Regions from separate parts of the Homo sapiens genome. Here region 2 is linked to region 1. Evidence: promoter capture Hi-C in human tissues and cell types (Jung and others, 2019). All regions are on one chromosome and are shown on one strand. The core of a region is centred on a gene start or on the middle of the fragment in contact, and the rest is flanking DNA. Distances in the headings are between cores, read along the strand shown.

The links. The method cuts DNA at HindIII sites, captures the fragments that hold promoters and counts their contacts. A contact is called where the count stands out against the background at its distance.
Region 2: a contact is called between a fragment that was not itself captured here and the fragment with the promoter of BAIAP2 in region 1, in 1 of the 25 tissues and cell types used here (dorsolateral prefrontal cortex).

What each region holds. Positions count from the first base shown.
Region 1 is chr17:81,033,559-81,037,266 of GRCh38, forward strand. It overlaps BAIAP2 (BAR/IMD domain containing adaptor protein 2), which reads left to right and starts at 1,593. Exons shown (of 14, transcript NM_001144888.2): 1 at 1,593-1,750. The coding sequence starts at 1,697. It overlaps BAIAP2-DT (BAIAP2 divergent transcript), which reads right to left and starts at 1,161. Exons shown (of 2, transcript NR_026857.1): 1 at 1,007-1,161. RefSeq lists a silencer at 1,229-1,538 and enhancers at 1,410-2,405, 3,456-3,708. The HindIII fragment of the contact is 14,233 bases long and covers 1-3,708 here.
Region 2 is chr17:81,503,863-81,507,562 of GRCh38, forward strand. No RefSeq gene overlaps it. Among named protein-coding and RNA genes, the nearest start is that of ACTG1, 7.1 kb to the right of the region's middle. The HindIII fragment of the contact is 9,311 bases long and covers 1-3,700 here.

The sequences.
Region 1 (3,708 bases), core at 343-2,842:
GAAAAAGGAAGCAGCCAGGGCCAGTAGCTGGAAGGAAATTCAGCCGGAGGAGAGGAGGCGCGGGGCTGTGGTGGGAGGGAGGCAATGCTTCCTGAATCTTACTTCCCTGGTCTTTCCATCGGCCTGAGCCCGTGCCAGTCTGGGGATCTGCCGGCCAGCCAGCACAACTGCGTCTCCCCCAGGGGCCTGACTCGTTGAAGGAATGAATGAATGAATGATTTTGCAGGGATGGGAGGCTGGGAGACTGAGAGGTTTCATTAAACGGAAACGCTCAGATCTGGTGTTTCACAACGTAAAACAAATAATTCCTCTATGTTAGCCTAATTTATGTAAATATTTCTCCACGGGAATTGTACCGGGAGACCTGTGTGCCAACTCGGCCAGCTTCCCCGGCAGAATCTCCCCTTGGGAGGACCCTTAAGCAGGACCCTTCCTAAAAATTGGAGGCAGCTCTGACTCCTCCATTCCTCCTACAAGGTTCCCCCACCCCCTAGGGCTTTCCACCGCATGAGAGTCCTCCGGGCCCCTCGTTTCCTACTGCCCTCGACCCTTCCTTCCCGAGACCTCTCTCTCTCAGTAAACTGCCTCCAACGAGAATCTTCTGACGGCAGGAGGGTCCTCCCCGTCCCTAAGGGTCGCCCTGTCCCCAGGCCTTCCAGCAGGACACTCCCCTGTCCCCTCTCCAGATCCTCCTTCCCAGGGCCCTCCTCCAAGATCCTCTTCCCCAACCCTCCTCTCCCAGGGTCCTCCCCTCTCCAGAATCCCGGCCCCAAGCCCCCAAGCGCTGTCTGCCTGTCTGGGGTCCTCCCCAGAGTTCACCTTCTGCAGGATCCTCCCTCCAAGTCCTCTCCTCACGATGCTCCCCCGAAATCCTCCTTCTCCAAGTCGTCCCCCACTCCAGGGCCGAGCTCTCTCCAGGGTCCTCCTGCAGCACCCCCTCCCCCAGGGTTCTCCTCTCTGCCCCGAGGGGCCGGCCGGGGGGTCGCCGCCCGCCCGGCGGGCTTACCTGCGAAGCGGCGGGGTCGGGGCCTCTCCCACCTGTAAGCCCGGCCCGCGGCGTCCTGCGTCCGAGCCGCTCCCCGCCCCGCAGCGCCAGGCCGCGACCCGGCGGGCCGCCCGCCCCGAAGTGCCACTTCGCGAAGTGCCGCCTCCACGCGCGCTGCCGCCGGCGCCCCCCGCTCTCCTCCCCGCACCTTCTGCTCCTTCTTCCTGCGCCACCCCGCCCCCGCCTCCCCGCCCCCAGCCCGGCTGTTGCCCGGGCCCCCTCAGGCTGCTCCCAGGGCCCCAGCCCGCGCCGCGCCTCCCCTCTCCTCCCCCAGGATCGACGCCGCCGCAGACCAATCGCTGCCTGGAGTCGGCCACTAGGCCCCACCTCCGATCCCGCCCCCCTCCCCCTTCTCCGGAACCCACCAATGGAAAGGGCGGTGCGGGGGCGGGGCCTGGCGGTTGCCTAGCAGCGGCAGCGCCGGGCGGGGGCGGGTGGTCGGGGGCGGTGATGCGGGCGCAACGGGGGCGGGACGCAGGGGCGGGGACTGCCGCGGGGCGGGGCCTGAGGCGGCTATAAAGGTGGCCGCCGCCGGACGCCGGGCTCTGTGGTTCGGGTCCGCTTTCGTCTCCGTCCTGCTGCCGTTACCGCCGCTGCTGCCGCCGCTTGCGTCCCCCGCTCCGGTCTGTGGTGCAGCCGGGACCCAGGACCATGTCTCTGTCTCGCTCAGAGGAGATGCACCGGCTCACGGAAAATGTCTATAAGGTGAGCGCCCCCCGGCGCCGAGCTGAGCCCGCTCCGTGTGCGCCTGGGTCGCGCGCCGCCCGCGCGCCCGAGCCCGACCAGGGCGGCCCCGGGGCCGCGCGCCGGGCCAGGAGGCTGGGACTTTGGGGGTCTTCCCGGCGCGGCCACCCGGGACCCGGGCTGCTGGGGTGGTGAGCCCGGCGCCGGCCGCTCACAGGTGGCCACCCCCGCCCGGGCCCCCCCATCCCATGCGCGCCGCGGCCCGGTCAGTCCCCAGCCCCAGGCCCGGGGAGCACTCCCCGCTCCGACGGCCCTGCTCGGCCCCCGCGCGCTCGCCTTGGCGTCGGCGGGAACGGAGCCGCGCGCCGGGCCCCGGAAGCCCTCGGACCGGTCGGGGTCGTAGCACACCCGGGCAGGGCCGGGGCGGCGGGGGCGGCGGGCCCAGGGGTTGCGGCGGCCAGGACGGCATGGGGGCTGTCTGAAGGCCGCGGTCGGCGCGGTGGCACCGTGGGGCTCCTCCAGGCGCGGTTGCGCGAGCCTCGGGCACTTCATTCTCAACAGGCTTTCCCTTCCCACAACTCCTGCCCGGCGCCCATGCTGGGGCCTAAGGTGGGAGGTCGGAGCGCGGGCAGGCTGGATGGGTGGACGGATAATCTATCATCTTATGTAACCGCGGAGAGAGAAGACTAATTGTGTAGGAGGCTGACGTGCCTGCCTTTGCTTCAGATGTGTTAAGAGTGGCATCCACGTTCTCGTCTGCGAAATGACAGGTTCACATCCAAGGGCCGCAGAGCACCGCTGGAAGCCTCCCCTGCCGCCCCCTCCCCAGTCGTTTTTGTGGCTGGGATACCGACAAACAGGCCCTTGGTTTTCTCTTTCTTCAGCATCCGTTCTCGGTCCAGACCCCCACGCCTGAGCCCGGCAGCTGCCGGGGAGCATTTTCTCAGAGGAGAAACCCCTGCTCTGGGTGTCCCTGGGTCCTGGGCGATCTCTTACAGATGTGCTTTGTTTCAAAACTGTCTGCAGGTTCAGTGACAGGCTGGGCGATGAGTGGAGTGGGTATTTACCCGGCAGTCGCTGGTTCATGTTTCCTAACCGGCTTGCACCCTGCCCGGCAGAGTAACTGTTTCTGATTGTGGTAGGCGGCCAAGGCGTGCCTGGCCAGGGGCCTGGGAAGCCCTCTTAGCTCTCAGGCTTGGGAGAGCCAGATGGAGGCTTCAGGGGTGGCCCCTCTGGTTCCAGCTGGAGTGCAGGGGGCCGATTGCACTTGAATACAGCTTTCAATAAAGCTTGTGAAGTTGGGGCCGCGTCAGTCTGGAAGGTTTCTGAAGGCGGGTGTGCGGTCGACTAGATGAGTCCTAAAGCCACGTCGGAGCCACTGGGAAACAGGATTCAGGGTGACCTGAGGAGTCGGCTTGGGAAAGGCACAGGCCCTGGGGTTGTTAGGTTTGGTTTCACAGAGTCTGTGGCATACGGTTCTGGCCTTGTTGCTCTGTGGAAGCACATGTTGTCAAGGGAGGGAGGTTTATTAAATTATTAGTCATTAGCTCCATTACGACTTGTTTGTGATTGCAGAGGGTGGAAGAGAAGTACCAGCGGAACCTTTTTCCTATTTTTTCTCCTTCTGCGCTGAAACCAGAAAGCAGGAACTTTCGTGGTGAGAGTTGGCAGGGGGTGAGTACATGGAGTGGTTTTGCTCTGGGGGACCGACCCCGTGATCGTCCTTAATAAAACTCTCCTAACCGGGCAGTAGGCCTTCACCTAGGTGAAGCTGTAATTTATCTGCAGGTCTAAGTGAAATCTGCTGGCAGGAAAACTCTTAGGACTGAGTGTTTGGGGACTTTGAGCCCCTGTGGACGCAGACCAGCTGGTCTGGAGCACGTGAAACACACAGGTTCTGCGTTTTGTCTTCCACGGGTGGGTTAATTGGTGATTTTCCCAAGTGAAGATGTGGCGGTTGATGATTTGATTTAGCACGG
Region 2 (3,700 bases), core at 97-2,596, 470 kb after region 1:
GAAAGAAGGGAGGGAGGGAGGGAAAGAAAGAAGGGAAGGAAGGAAGGAAGGGAGAAGAAAGGGAGGGAGAAAGGGAAAGAAAAGAAGAAAAGAAAAGAAAAGGCCAGGTGCAGTGCCTCATGCCTGTAATCCCAGCACTTTGGAAGGCCAAGGTGGGCAGATCACCTGAGGTCAGAAGTTCAAGACCAGCCTGGCCAACCAACATGGTGAAACCCTGGCTCTACAGAAAATACAAAAATTAGTGGGGCATGGTGGTGGGCACCTATAATCCCAGCTACTTGGGAAGCTGAGGCAGGAGAATCGCTTGAACCCAGAAGGTGGAGGTTACAGTGAGCCGAGATCACACCACCGGACTCCAGTCTGGGCAACAAGAGCAAAACTCCATTAAAAAAAAGAAAGAAATAGGCCAGGCGCAGTGGCTCACGCCTGTAATCCCAGCACTCTGGGAGGCCGAGACAGGCAGATCACGAGGTCAGGAGATCAAGACCATCCTGGCTAACACGGTGAAATCCCATCTCTACTAAAAATACAAAAAAAAAATTAGCCAGGCGTGGTGGTGGGCGCCTATAGTCCCAGCTACTCAGGAGGCTGAGGCAGGAGAATTGCTGGAAACTGGAGGCGGAGGCCGCACTCCAGCGGCGAGAGAGTGAGACTCCATCAAAAAAGAAAGGGAGGGAGGGAAGGAGGGAAGGAGAGAAGGAGGGAGGGAGGGAGAGGAGGAGAGGAGAAAAGAGGGAGGGGAGGGGAGTGGAGGGGGAGAATAATTTGTAACCACTAATGAAATAGCAGGTCCTGGCAGGGATTTCCAATGGCTGCTAATATCACAACATCAGGCTCTGTGGGACTCTTTCCCTCTCCATGAAGTTGCACCCACCCTGTGGTCATCTTCTTGCTAAAAAAATCAACCTGAATGAGATTAAACAGACCAGTTTGGACATTTACACCTAGAGCTAACTGACTATAGGAAATATAAGGGTTGAGGAACGTGCCACATCAACCACAAGGACGAAATCAGCAAAATCCAGACAGGTGGAACCCTTTGGAACAAAAGACCTGCCTTCTTCCACAAATAACCTGAAAGGAGAAAAATGAAAGAGGGTAAATCCCGCGGTTAAAAGAGATTTAAGAGACATAGTGGCCAAGTGCAATGATTGGAAACCAACCGTTAAAAGAAATTTAGGTGGGTCGCGGTGGCTCACGCCTGTAATCCCAGCACTTTGGGGGGCCGAGGCGGGTGGATCACGAGGTCAGGAGATCGAGACCATCCTGGCCAACACGGTGAAACCCCGTCTCTACTAAAAATACAAAAAAAATACAAAAAAATACAAAAAAAATACCCCGTCTCTACTAAAAATACACCAGCCGGGCGTGGTGGTGGGCGCCTGTAGTCCCAGCTACTCGGGAGGCTGAGGCAGGAGAATGGCATGAACCCAGGAGGCGGAGCTTGCAGCGAGCCGAGATCACACCACTGCACTCCAGCCCGGGTGACAGAGTGAGACTCCGTCTCAAAAAAAAAAAAGAAAGAAATTTAAGGCTGGGCATGGTGGCTCACACCTGTAATCGCCACATTTTAGGAGGCTGAGGTGAGAGGATCTCTTGAGACCAGGAGCTTGAGACCAGCCTAAGCAACATAGGGAGACCCCATCTCTACAGAAAGTTTAAAAATTATCTGGGCATGGTGGTGCACGCCTGTAGTCCCAGCTACTCAAGCGGCTGAGGTGGGAGGATTGCTTGAGCCTAGGAAGTCGAGGCTGCAGTGAGCTGTGATTGTGCCACTGCACTCTAGCCTGGGCAACAAAGCAAGACCCTGTCCCCCCAAAAAAACAGACAAACAAAACAACAACAAAAAATTTAAGACAACCAAGGAAATTTGGACATTAGATGATACTAAGTATCGATCAATAATTGGTGGGTGGGGGCATGATACTGTGATTTTTTTTTTTTTTTTTTTTTTTTTGAGATAGAGTCTTGCTCTGTCACCCAGGCTGGAGTGCAGTGGCTCAATCTCGGCTCACTGCAACCTCTGCCATGTGGGTTCAAGCAATTCTCCTGCCTCAGCCTCTGGAATAGCTGGGATTACAGGCGCACGCCACCATGCCTGGCTAATTTTTGTATTTTTAGTAGAGATGGGTTTCACCATGTTGGCCAGGCTGGTCTTGAACTCCTGACCTCGTGATCCGCCCGTCTCGGCTTCCCAAAGTGGTGGGATTACAGGAATGAGCCACCGCGCCCAGCTTGTGGTTGTTTTTTCAAAAAGAGTCCTAGGCTGGGTGCAGTGGCTCATGCCTGTAATCCCAGCACTTTGGGAGGCCTAAGCAGGAGGACCATTGAGTCCAGGAGTTCAGCCTGGGCAACATAGTGAGATGCTGTCTCCAAAAAAAACACAAAAGCAAACAAACAAAAGGCCATGGAGGAGGCCAATCCCCAGCTGTGCTGAGCCAGGATCAGATTCTCTCAGCCCCTTTCAGCAGCACCTGTCCTCCTCTGAGTCAATATATTGCTGTTGCAGCCGGGCGCGGTGGCTCATGCCTGTAATCCCAGCACTTTGGGAGGCCGAGGTGGACGGATCACCTGAGGTCAGGAGTTTGAGACCAGACTGACCAACATGGAGAAACCCCATCTCTACCGAAAATACAAAATTAGCTGGGCGCGGTGGCGCATGCCTGTAATCCCAGCTACTTGGGAGGCTGAGGCAGGAGAATCGCTTGAACCCAGGAGGTGGAGGTTGTGGTGAGCTGAGATTGCGCCATTGCACTCCAATTGGGCAACAAGAGCGACACTCCATCTCAAAAAAGAAAAAAAAAAGAAAGAAAAAGAAAAAGAAATATGGAACATAAAAGTTACCATTTTAATCGTTTAAAAGTGTACAGGCCAGGCGCAGTGGCTCACACCTGTGATCCCAGCACTTTGGGAGGCCGAGGCAGGCAGATCACCTGAGGTCAGGGGATCAAGACCATTCCGGCCAACATGGTGAAACCCCGTCTCTACTAAAAATACAAAAATTAACCAGGTACACAGGCACACGCCTGTAGTCCCAGCTACTCGGGAGGCTGAGGCAGGAGAATCGCTTGAACCCAGGGGCCAGAGGTTGCAGTGAGCCGAGATCACACCACTGCACTCCAGCCTGGCAACAGAGCAAGACTCTGTCTCAAAAAAAAGTGTACAATTGGCTGGGTGCGGTGGCTCACGCCTGTAATCCCAGCACTTTAGGAGGCCAAGGAGGGTGGATCACCTGAGGTCAGGAGTTCAAGACCAGCCTGGCCAACGTATCGAAATTCTGTTTGTATTAAAAATACAAAAATCAGCTGGGTGTGGTGGCACACACCTATAATCCCAGCTACTTGAGAAGCTGAGGCAAGAGAATCGCTTGAACCCAGGAGGCAGATGCTGCAGTGAGCTGAGATTGCACCACTGCACTCCAGCCTGGATGACAGAGCCAGGATGGTCTTGTTCTCCTGACCTCGTGATCTGCCAGCCTCAGCCTCCCAAAGTGCTGGGATTACAGGTGTGAGCCACTGCTCCCAGCAGTTTTTTTTTTTGTTTTTTTTTTTTTGAGACAGGGTCTTGCTCTGTCATCCAGGCTGGAGTGCAGTGGCTCAATCACAGCTGACTGCAACCTCAATCTCCCCAGGTTCAAGTGATCCTCCCACCTCACCCTTCTGAGTAGCTGGGTTACTACAAGCGTGTGCCACCAGGACAG